Linked DNA regions of Homo sapiens: regions 1 and 2 are each linked to region 3. Evidence: promoter capture Hi-C in human tissues and cell types (Jung and others, 2019). All regions are on one chromosome and are shown on one strand. Each heading gives the region's core, a stretch centred on a gene start or on the middle of the fragment in contact. The rest is flanking DNA. Distances are from core to core; before and after follow the strand shown.

The links. The method cuts DNA at HindIII sites, captures the fragments that hold promoters and counts their contacts. A contact is called where the count stands out against the background at its distance.
Region 1: a contact is called between a fragment that was not itself captured here and the fragment with the promoter of SLC6A7 in region 3, in 2 of the 25 tissues and cell types used here (IMR-90 fibroblasts and mesenchymal stem cells).
Region 2: a fragment that was not itself captured here is called in contact with the fragment with the promoter of SLC6A7 in region 3 in 3 of the 25 tissues and cell types used here (H1 embryonic stem cells, aorta and pancreas).

What each region holds. Positions count from the first base shown.
Region 1 is chr5:150,363,485-150,367,017 of GRCh38, reverse strand. It overlaps TCOF1 (treacle ribosome biogenesis factor 1), which reads right to left. Exons shown (of 27, transcript NM_001371623.1): 3 at 2,766-2,905. Among named protein-coding and RNA genes, the nearest start is that of TCOF1, 7.6 kb to the right of the region's middle. The HindIII fragment of the contact is 7,992 bases long and covers 1-3,533 here.
Region 2 is chr5:150,003,882-150,007,669 of GRCh38, reverse strand. HMGXB3 (HMG-box containing 3) reads right to left here. Exons shown (of 20, transcript NM_014983.3): 2 at 2,681-2,819; 3 at 1,023-1,197. The coding sequence starts at 2,817. Among named protein-coding and RNA genes, the nearest start is that of HMGXB3, 5.0 kb to the right of the region's middle. The HindIII fragment of the contact is 4,061 bases long and covers 1-3,603 here.
Region 3 is chr5:150,188,426-150,192,125 of GRCh38, reverse strand. It overlaps SLC6A7 (solute carrier family 6 member 7), which reads right to left and starts at 2,064. Exons shown (of 14, transcript NM_014228.5): 1 at 1,766-2,064. The coding sequence starts at 1,798. The HindIII fragment of the contact is 16,922 bases long and covers 1-3,700 here.

The sequences.
Region 1 (3,533 bases), core at 666-3,165, 180 kb before region 3:
TGCTTTTATACCAGGGTATTGTCTCCTTAAATCTCAGATTTCTTTTTGTTAAGAAGAATGTTGGGCCGGGCGCGGTGGCCTCACGCCTGTAATCCCAGCACTTTGGGAGGCCGAGGCGGGTGGATCATGAGGTCAGGAGATCGAGACCATCCTGGCTAACAAGGTGAAACCCCGTCTCTACTAAAAATACAAAAAATTAGCCGGGCGCGGTGGCGGGCGCCTGTAGTCCCAGCTACTCGGGAGGCTGAGGCAGGAGAATGGCGTGAACCCGGGAAGCGGAGCTTGCAGTGAGCCGAGATTGCGCCACTGCAGTCCGCAGTCCGACCTGGGCGACAGAGCGAGACTCCGTCTCAAAAAAAAAAAAAAAAAAAAAAAAAAGAAGAATGTTGCTGAGATGAATGGCATGATCTAATTCTTTTCCTGGCACTTCACTCCATCTCTCTCTTTCTGTAATTATGGAAAATTTTTAAGTAGTAAATAGAAAGGAAGAACCAGGCAGCTCCAACCATTAACAACTTGTGACCAATCTTTTCATCTCATGTATTATCTCACTCACCCTTCCCCATCAAGCATTACTTTGAAGAAAATGCCATAGATCCTACCACGTTGCCCACAAATACTTCAGCATGTTTCTCTCTCAATGAGGATGCGTTTTTAAATTTTTTTTGAGACAGGGTCTTGCTCTGCTGCCCAGGCTGGAGTACAGTGGCACATTCATAGCTCACTGCAACCTCCAATGCCTGGACTCACATGATTCTCCTATCTCAGCCTCCTGAGTAGCTGGGACCACCAGTGCATGCCACCATGCCCAGCTAATTTTCTTATTTTTTGCAGAGACGGAGTCTCACTATGTTGCCCAGGATGCCAACGAGGACTCTTCTTCCTTTTTTTTTTTTTTTTGAGACAGTCTTGCTCTGTTGCCCAGGCTGGAGTGCAGGCACAGTCATGGCTCACTGTAGCCTTGACCTCCTGGGCTCAAGTAATCCTCCCACCTCAGGCCTCCTAGGCAGCTGAAACTACAAGCACACGCCACCATGCCTGGCTAAATTTTAAATTTTTTGTAGATACAGGGTTTTGCCATGTTGCCCAGGCGGGTCTCCAACTCCTGGGCTCAAGTGATCCTTCTACCTTGACCTCCCAAAGTGCTGGGATTACCGGTGGGTGTGAGCCACCATGCCCAACCCAGTGAAGACTTTTAAAAAAATAAAATTACATACCCGGAGGCTGAGGCAGGAGGATCACTTGAGGCCAGGAGTTCAAGGCCAGTCTAGGCAACATGGCAAGACCTCATATCAAAAAAAGCCCCAAACAAACAAACAAAAAAATGTAATTACACCTCCATTATCACAGCTTATAAAATTGATTAATACCAAATAGCCAATCAGTAAGAAATTTTACCATTTGTGTTTCAAATAGCATGCAGGTCTGTATATATGCATGTAAGAATACATGTTTGAATGAATATAGAGGCAAAGGAGGAAGTTTTAAAGGTTACCTATGAGGAGATGCACTTAGGAATGATAGGGAACAGGGTAGGACAACAAAAAACCTTTAAGTTTTCTTCTATATGCTCTTCTACAGTTCAAAGTGAACTCGTTTTGCATTTATAATGTAAAATTAAGCGATATATAATATATATCCAGGGCGCAGTGGCTCATGCCTGTAATCCCAGCCCTTTTGGAGGCCAAGGTGGGCGGATCACCTGAGACTAGTCTGGCTAACATTGTGAAACCCCGTCTCTATTAAAAAAAAAAAAAAAAAAAAGAAAGAAAAAGAAAACCCACAAAATTAGCTGACAGTAGTGGTGCATGCCTGTAGTCCCAGCTACTCGGGAGGCTGAGGCAGGAGAATCACTTGAACCCAGGAGGCGGGGGTTGCCCTGAGCTGACATCACGCCATTGTGCTCCAGCCTGGGTGACAAGAGTGAAACCCCGTCTCAAAAAAATAATAAAATATATACCTAGTATGATCTCAAACACTTTAAAAGCAGACTCAGGAAGCTGGGCATGGTGGTATGTGCATGGAATTCCACCTACTCAAGAGGCTAAGGCAGGAGGATCACTTGAGCTCAGGAGTTCAAGACCAGCCTGGACAACATGGCAAGACTTTGTCTTGAAAAATAAAAAATAAGTATTAAGAAATGTGTCTTCTATGTAAGCAAAAGAAGATAATACGATGCAAAGGAGACACAGCAATTCCTCTGTAGAGTTATGGCTGCTGTTGGGGAAAGTACAAGGAGCCCTGGGACCTTAGGAGAAGAAGGGGCTATAAAAGCTTTGACTGAGTTACTCCTGCAAACGGTGTAAAACCAGTGCCCAGTACAGCGTTCCAGTGCTAATGGGTACAATTCTAAATGAACATGAAGATCAGCAATTCCTAAAGCATCCCACAGGTCACACAGAAAATGTGTCCGCTAGCTGCTTTCTGAAATCCCTCCAGCAGTACTTCTGAACGTGTGTCTTCTTTCCAGCTAATAAGAATCACCTGGGAGCCTGTAATAGGGCAGCTCCTGGGCCCCATACACCAAATGAGACTGGAAGGGCCCATCTGGTTGTTTTGGTTCGGCCTTGCACCCCCAGAGCATGGAGATATAATGCCTGGCACGGAGGAAGGGCTCAAATACTGCCAAAGATATGTGGTGCCCTCCCAATCTCCTCCCCAGGGTCTTTTAGGTCTTCTAGTGATAAGAGAAGAAGCTGGAGGTAGACTCTACCCTAGAACAATCAATATTCCATAGCCTGTTCCCAAAGCTGCAAGGCTCTTACTGGCTTTGGCGGTTTCGGCTTCTGCTTCTTCCTCCTCTTCCGAGCTCTCCGAGGTGCTGATGGGGTCTGACACACGGGTTTTCTTAGCTTGCAGTGCCGCATCTTCCTCTGCCTTCCGCTTCCGACCAAGCTCTGAGGTTCTGCAGGACAAGGGTGACTGTCTATACCAACTGGGTGACAGAACAACTCCACAAGAATTGACTAGACAGACCTTCCCGCATCCTTCCAGCTCTTAAAGGCAATGTGCATAGAATCTAAACAGTGGTGAAAACACAGTATAGGCACAATTTTGTATTCTGCATTTTCACTCACTTCATAAAGTGCTTTTACAATTCTTGATTAGTCTTTAAAATAATCAGGAATGCTGGATAATGTTATATAACAGCTGCAGCAGCTACCAGTCTTTAAGTGATAGGAGCTGACCCATGCAGGCACCTCACAGAACCGCCCAGGCTCTTCCCCCTGCAGAACATGCTGTGTGTACTGTGCCTTCTTGGAAGACTCTGCCCAGGTCCTCGTCCTTCCCGTCTCAACTTTAATGTAGCCCCCCAAGAGAGGCCCTCGAAGATTGCCCCTCTTCCAAGGCATGCTCTGCCCTGTGATCCTGTTTCATTTTCTTCATAGCTTTTCTCTATCTCCTGTTATTTTACTTACTTCCTAGACTCCTCCCCTACACAGAAAGGCCCAGGGAGGAAGGCAGCTGGCAGCTCACTACAGTATCCTCAGTGCCTCACACATGTCTCAAAAACTGAACAACTAAGTGACTTG
Region 2 (3,788 bases), core at 324-2,823, 180 kb after region 3:
TTAATAAACAAATCACCTAGAGGAGGGAGCAGAGAGTAGCATCTCCAAGCCTGTAGGTAAGACAAAGCTCTCCCAGAAAGAAGAATGCCAGGCCAATAAGCACAAAATAATTTAAATGGCAGTAGCTGATGAGCTCCAATAAGGGAAAATACAACCTGTTCTGCTATAACGTAGTTGTTGCTGTTGCTCTACATTACCAAAATAGAAGTTACAGACAACTGTTTCTATTGAAATAAGGAGTTAAGGATAAAAGGTTCCAGCCTGCAACAGCAAGGTTATTCTTCCTGCAGGAATTTCAGTTTAAAAAAACAGCAGTTTATGCCATGACAGGGATACTCTCAAAAAAACAAAAACCCAGCAGTTTAAATAGCTGTCAGTGTATTTTGTTACTGTGAACTAGAAATAAGAAAATGCTGACAGACATAATTCTAAATGCTTCCTTGTTAGTCCTTTAACCCAAGCACCCAAAGCCTTGGTCTCCTCCACCATCTTTGGCTTTACTTGCATTTTTGCTTTCAGCATAGTTTCCAACCACCAGTGCTAACAAAATAATGTGGTACTGTATTACACAAGCAGCTCTATCTACCTCTAAACATGCAAACCTTATTCCTGATTATAACTGATAGCAGTTAGTACAATATACTACATTCAATCTGTAATATGAAAACTCATGGCGTAGGAGAAATGCCTATATAAACTACTATATTAAAGTTTACTACATTAAAGCTACTATTTATAGTAACTATGAGGGGCTCCAAGTTACACTAAAATTTAGAAAAGGAACCTAAGGCTCACTGCAGAAAACACAAAAAAATGTCAGCTCCACGTATTGCTGCAACCGAAGAGGACAAGAGAGTGCAGGGCATTATCAAAATGGAAACAAGCAAGCCCAGAGTCAAGAAGGATAAAACGATGAAACTTTTCCCAAAAAAAGAAAAGGAAACAGAACAAGGGGCTTGGTTTTCCCAAGGCCTTCATCACTGAACCAGTGGAAAAAATAGCTGGAAAAAAAAATTACTTACAGGATCCAAACCTTCCTTCTCTAGTTTGGCTTTCTCCAAGTAGTAACTCCTCTCGGCCACGCTGAGAAGCCTCCAACTCTCACTAATCTTCTTATTGATCTCAGACTGAGGGAGGTGGGGGAGCTCCTGCTGCACTTTCAGGTAGATGTCGTAATAGTACAGAAGGTAAGCAGACCTGAGGAAGCAATGACTTCTTCAGGCTTTCCCAGTAATGGCAATGCTGGCAGAAATCCCTCCACTTCCCACTCCCCATCCCTCGACCCAGGACTTCATTCAACCAGTAAGTACTACTATGCTAAGATATGGGTAGTCAAGAGGTTGATAAAACCTAGCTTCTCATTTCTAAGCATTTATCTAAATAGGGACTGAAAGTCAAGCAAACAAACATTTAAATAACATCCTCAGATGGTGTTATAATAAGTTATAATCTTATTCCTGATTATAACTGATAGCTGTCAGTACAACACAAATTATATTACATTCAATTTGTAATATAAAAACTCATGGTATAGGAGAAATGCTTATATAAGCTACCATATTAAAGTTACTACATTAGAGCCACTATATTACAGTCAGGAGTAACTACCCAGGAAGATAAGGGGCTCCAAGGGAGGAGGGGAAAATGAATGGTAAAGATAGCAAGTGGCTGTTTCCCCTTCAGAAACCTGGAAGCAAAGGCTCATTTGACTGGCTTTCCTAAAGATCGCTTTTTGTGCAGGAATGATTTTAAAGCAAAGATAGATACAGGTGTCCTGTCCTGTCATTCCACTCTCAGGGAAAGCTTCCTCAAGGGGCTGGTTATCACTCACACTCCGTGCTCCTCTACGCAGCCTTTGGTCACCAACCTGGTCAATGGCACCTCCCCAAGGATGAGAGAGGGAAGCAAGCAGACCAATCAAAATGACCAATGCTGGTAGTTTCACAAGTTTGAGGTATTCACAGTCAAGAGTGAAGTTAGAGCTACAATTTGGATATTCTGTACAGATATAATTGGTATTATTTCTTTTTGTGTGTTTTTTTTCTTTTTCTTTTCTTTTTTTTTTTTTTTTGAGAGGAGTTTCGTTCTTGTTGGCCAAGCTGTAGTGCAATGGCACAATCTTGGCTCACCGCAACCTCCGCCTCCCAGATTCAAGTGATTCTCTTGCCTCAGCCTCCCAAGCAGCTGGGATTACAGGTGTGCGCCACCACGCCCGGCTAATTTTGTATTTTTAGTAGAGACGGGGTTTCTCCACGTTGGTCAGGCTGGTCTCGAACTCCTGACCTCAGGTGATCCACCCGTCTCAGCCTTCCAAACTGCTGGGATTACAGGCATGAGCCATCACGCCCAGCCTTATTTCTAATTTTGTAATTTTATTAATGCTTTGTTTTAAATGTTTAAATAACAACAATGGCATAATAATAAATAATGTAGCTCTTTTGTACCTAGCTTCTACCATCAGTATGGTACAATTTCCTGTGACAACTTGAAAACAAAAGCAAAGTCTGGCCAGTAATGGCAATGCTGGCAGAAATCCCTCCACTTCCCACTCCTCATCCCTCGACACAGGACTTCAATCATAACACTCTTTTTCAAAGAGTCTTAAAAGTTTTCCTCAATGCAGCTCTCCAAGCAACTTCTGTTTATAAATGCTAGCAGCAACCAAAATGTGTTGGCTAACCTGGGTTTCTTTGTCTTTTCTCCATGTATTTTATACTTTTTCTTCTTCTTGGGTGGCCCAGGAGAGGTGTAACAATAGGCTTCCTCAATTTCCTCCATCACGACAGTTACCTCAGTACCATCATATGATGCGTCCATGGCTAAAGGAAAGGAAAGTCAAAATAAAGTTTCCAGAATCTCCCCTAAGAGGGGCAGCAGCTTCCTGATCAAATAACCCCTTACCTCTGCCAGTGCCTTAAGGCTTAGACATTTCCCAAACCCAATATATCCTAAGAAGCACCTGGCTTGGTTGTTTAACACACAAGATTCCAGAGCTCCACTTCAGCCCTCCTGGAGCAGAATCTCCCGAGGGTATGGAAATCCACATGCTTAACAAATGCCTCAGGTGATTCCTCAGACCGGGCAAGTTTGTGACCACTGCCTTAGAAATACTTTTCACTTATATTCATGGGATACAGTACCCACCCACCCCTTTAACACAAAGATTTATTAGCCCCAAATTATAACAATTCTATATGGAAACAGGTTAAAAAAAAATGCTTGGCCAGGAATCAGAAGTTCTGGCCCATTCCTCCTATGTTTCATCAACTTAAGCAAATCCCTTCATTGATTCACTCAAACATGTAGTAAGGGCCTGTATGTAAAAGATTTCTTTATACTCTGCCAGCTTGTGCAATTTTGGTCAGGTCTTTTAGCTGCTTTTTGTTCAGCTTTCTCTCTCATGTATAAAAAAAGACATGTCTCAACTACCTTCCCACAGATTTATAGTGATAAGACTCAAAGGATACAATAGACACAACTCTATTTAAAAATAATTGGATGGGCGCAGTGACTCACGCCTATAATCTCAGCACTTTGGGAGGCTGAGATGGGAGGGTTGCTTGAGGCCAGGAGTTTGAGGCCAGCCAGCTTGGTCAACATAGTGAGACCCCATCTCTATTAAAAAAATAAAAATCTTTTTTAATTAAAAAAAAAAAAAGAAAATAGTCAAGTGCTATGCAAATGAAAAGGGTTTGTTTTTGGGTTTTTTGTTTTTGTTTTTTGAGACAGGGTCTCACTCTGTCACTAGAGAACAGTGGCACACTCTGGGCTCACTACAGTCTTGACCT
Region 3 (3,700 bases), core at 815-3,314:
AAATCTGGCATTTTCTCATTCCCGCCCAATTCTGCTTGAGAAAAGGGAAAGGACCCTGAGAGGAGGTAGCAACCTAGAACCAACCCTCTGCCCTGTTGGCTCTAGGTTGCCTAGCCTGCCAGCAGGTAAGCAGTGAGTCTCACCCCTCTGTGCCTCAGTTGCCTTATTTATAAAGTGGGGCTACTAAGACCTAGCCCCTGGAAGTGTTAAAGGATTAAATGAGATAAAGCTTGCTAACCCCCCAGCCCAGCACCCAGCAAGAGGGACAGGGCCTCTTGTGGGGAGGGAGGGCAGAGAGGGAAGAGAAGGAGAGTGGAAAAGAATGGAAACAGGACCCAAGAGACTCACAAATGGTCTCAAGAAGTCACTCATGTCAGTGAATAAAAAAGACATACCAGCTGGGCGCAGTGACTCACACCTGTAATCCCAGCACTTTGGGAGGCCGAGGCGGGCGGATCACGAGGTCAGAAGATCAAGACCATCCTGGCTAACACGGTGAAACCCCGTCTCTACTAAAAATACAAAACATTAGCCAGGCGTGGTGGCGGGCGCCTATAGTCCCAGCTACTCGGGAGGCTGAGGCAGGAGAATGGCGTGAACCCGGGAGGCAGAGCTTGCAGTGAGCCGAGATCACACCACTGCACTCCAACCTGGGTGACAGAGCGAGACTCCGTCTCAAAAAAAAAAAACAAGAAAAAGAAAAAAGACACACCACAGTGGTTCCAAGCCCAGCTGCCCCAGAGCAGAGAACTTGAATGAATGAGTGTGTGTGTGAGTGAGTGTGAGTGTGAATGTGTGTGTATGTAGGGAGGTTGATAACACCAGCCCCTGAGAACAGTCTTCTCACATCTACCAGCCCTTTAGCATTCTTCCCCACACCTCACACACCCAGTGGGGCCTGTTTTGGTGCCTCCAGGCTAGGGCTTAGCCAGAGGAGGTTCAGGTTAGAGAATGAACTTGTCCAAAGTCACCAGGCAAGTGGCAGCGGCAGAAATAGTATTCAGGAGATCTGACTCCTTAGTTAGGACTGGTACAAGCCAGAAAACGTCCCCCAGTATTCCCCCTCCCCATATCCTGACAGCTTGGCTGAGAGGTCCAATCCCACAAGGCAAGGTAGGGAGAGCCTGAGGTCTGGGCCCACAGCCACTCTCCCATACCAGCTTCCATCTTCATTGATCATATCCTCCTGCCTCCGATAGCCCCCTCCCTGTCTTTGCCTCCCTTCAGCCCTGCTGAGGGGCAGCCTGGGGTCTCAGCAGGCAAGCTAAGGGGGCGGGGAGGGAGCAGGCAGGAAAGAGGAGAGTCTTCCCGCAGGCTCAGGGAGCCGGCTTCAGTATGGATGACCGCCTCCCACTCCCCACCCCTCAGATGAGTCCAGCTCAACGCTCAGGTATTCCAATACCCCCCACACCCGGCAATCAGCTCCTGGCGGGGAGCAGCAGGGTGGAATTGGGGAAGAGGTGGGTGCCTGGCCCCGGCCGCCCCTACCCCGCGCCTCCGGGGACTGCAGACACCTGTTCATAGGCCTGGCCCAGTGAACCAGGACTCCCCTCATACTACATCCCGAACCCCAGATGGCAGGGGCAGAGGTGGGGGCGCAGACCGTGACCCTGACCCTCCCTGTTATCCAGCTGAGTCGGGCCTTCCCCAGAGCCCGAAGCTGGTCTGGGTGCATCCTCAGACCTTCCCCAGGGGCCTCGTTGGGGGCGGGTCTCTCCAACCCTCCTCCAGGTGCACCCCCAGCGCCCCCGCCCTCGTGCCCTACCTTGCGGAGGTGAGCTCCCTGGAGCTTCTTCATCTTGGAGAGCGGGTGGCCGGGGCTCAGCTGCCCCGGAGCGCAGAGAGCGAGGGCACGAGAGATGGTCCGCTGGCCACTGCGCCTTTGCCCCCGCGGCTCCCGCGCACCGGCTGGGGCGGGCACGGACGCAGGCGCTGCCGTCTGGCGGCTGCGGGCGTGGAGCGCGGGCAGGGCGCTGCGAATGCCTTGTCTGTCCCTGCGCAGCGCCCGAGGCTGGGGAAGGGTGCACTGCTGCGCCCGCATAGACACCCAGACAGACAGCTGACGGACGGACGGCGGGGGGATGCGCGCGCCCCCGCACGCAGAGCTGCGGATTGGAGAGCCCTGAGCGAGTGGGGAGGGGGGTTCGCGACGGAAACCCTCGGCTTTCTGCGTGACCTTGGGCAAGCGACCTGCCCTCTCTGGGACTCCCTTTCCACAGTTGGGCAAGGAACACTAACAGCCCACCCCCCTGCGTCGTCTTTGCTGTGCGACCTTAGGGGATAAGAATCTCTCCTCTCTTACAGGAGTGTGAGCAATTCAGGAAGATGGAGCATAGAAAACATCTAGCACAAAGAGCCTGACACATAGTAGGTGCTCAGTTAACATTTATTCACTGACTGTGGGTTGCCCACGCCACCATTAGTCCAATTATTCAATCTATCAGTATTTATTGAGCACCTAAAATGTGCCAGGTCCTGAACTAGGTGTCCTATTTTCTCAACCTGGAGAGACAGGTGTCGTTACTCCTATTCTACAGATGAGGAAGCTGAGGGACAGGGAAGTTAAGTTACTTACTCAAAGTCACGGGGCTAATGAGTGACACCAGGGACAGAGTCAGGCTTCATGGACCTTTAGGCTAGTAGAGTCTTCAACTCTCCTCCTTTCCTTAAGATGAAAGCAAAATGGGGAGGTTTGGGTGAGCAGAAGGGACAGGCAAGTGCCACAGTGTCACTGTGATCTGTGACTTAGATGATTAGTAACTGGTTTCCTGTCCAGCAGCAGTATGGCTTCTGGAAAGTTCTAATTTCATATCTGTAAAATGGGCCACGAGCCGCCCATGCATTGTTGCCTCAGAATGTTCTGAGGGTCCAGTGAGCCTGTGGCTAGGATGGGAAATGATGAGCTGGAGCAATGGCACACGTTGGTTTGCTGGGACTGACTGATAGACACTAGCGGATCAGTATATACATTACAAATTGTGTCCTTTTCACCCTCGCAAGTGTCCCAGTTTAGACATTAACCATACATCTGTTTGGCTCACTATCAGTTGACACGGTGGGAGGCCTTTGGGGAGAGATGAGAATAAGGTTCTGCTCTCTCCCACCTCTGGAGCTTGAAAAAAGGTTGGAGGGGTTTAAGTCAAAGCATGGACTTGGGTAAAGGCCTGGCCAGGCTCCAGTCCACCCCTTCCCCTGCCCAGGTCCTGTCAAACTTCTCTCCCCTTTGAGCCTGGCCACAAAGGGCAAACCAGGGGCTCTCCAGACCCAGGAGGAAGGTGTCTCCTCTGCCCCCTGCCTGCTGACCCATATGGGGCCAAGAGTGGCTGTGAGTGTGAAGAGAAGGAGCATTTATGGAGCCCTACTGTGTGCATTATGAAGGATTTTTGCATCCAACATCTAATTTTTAATTCTTTCCAACTGTCTGGGAAGACATGTTTGTGCATCTCATTTTACACCTGTGGAAACTGTCCCAGAGGAGTGAAGTCATGCACTGGGCGTTGGGGATGAAGCCAGGAAAGCTGTGGGTCATGGCTGGGAAAGGCAGAAGCCAAGGGCTCCTGAATCCAAGGAGGCCCAGGCAGGAAACTTCCCCATCCCTCACCCAAGGCTTGTCAATGCATCTTGTACAAAAGAGGCTCAACCTTGCTCAACCACTCCCTCCCATTGGCACTTGGGTTTCATGAGACCCTTTGGAAGGCAC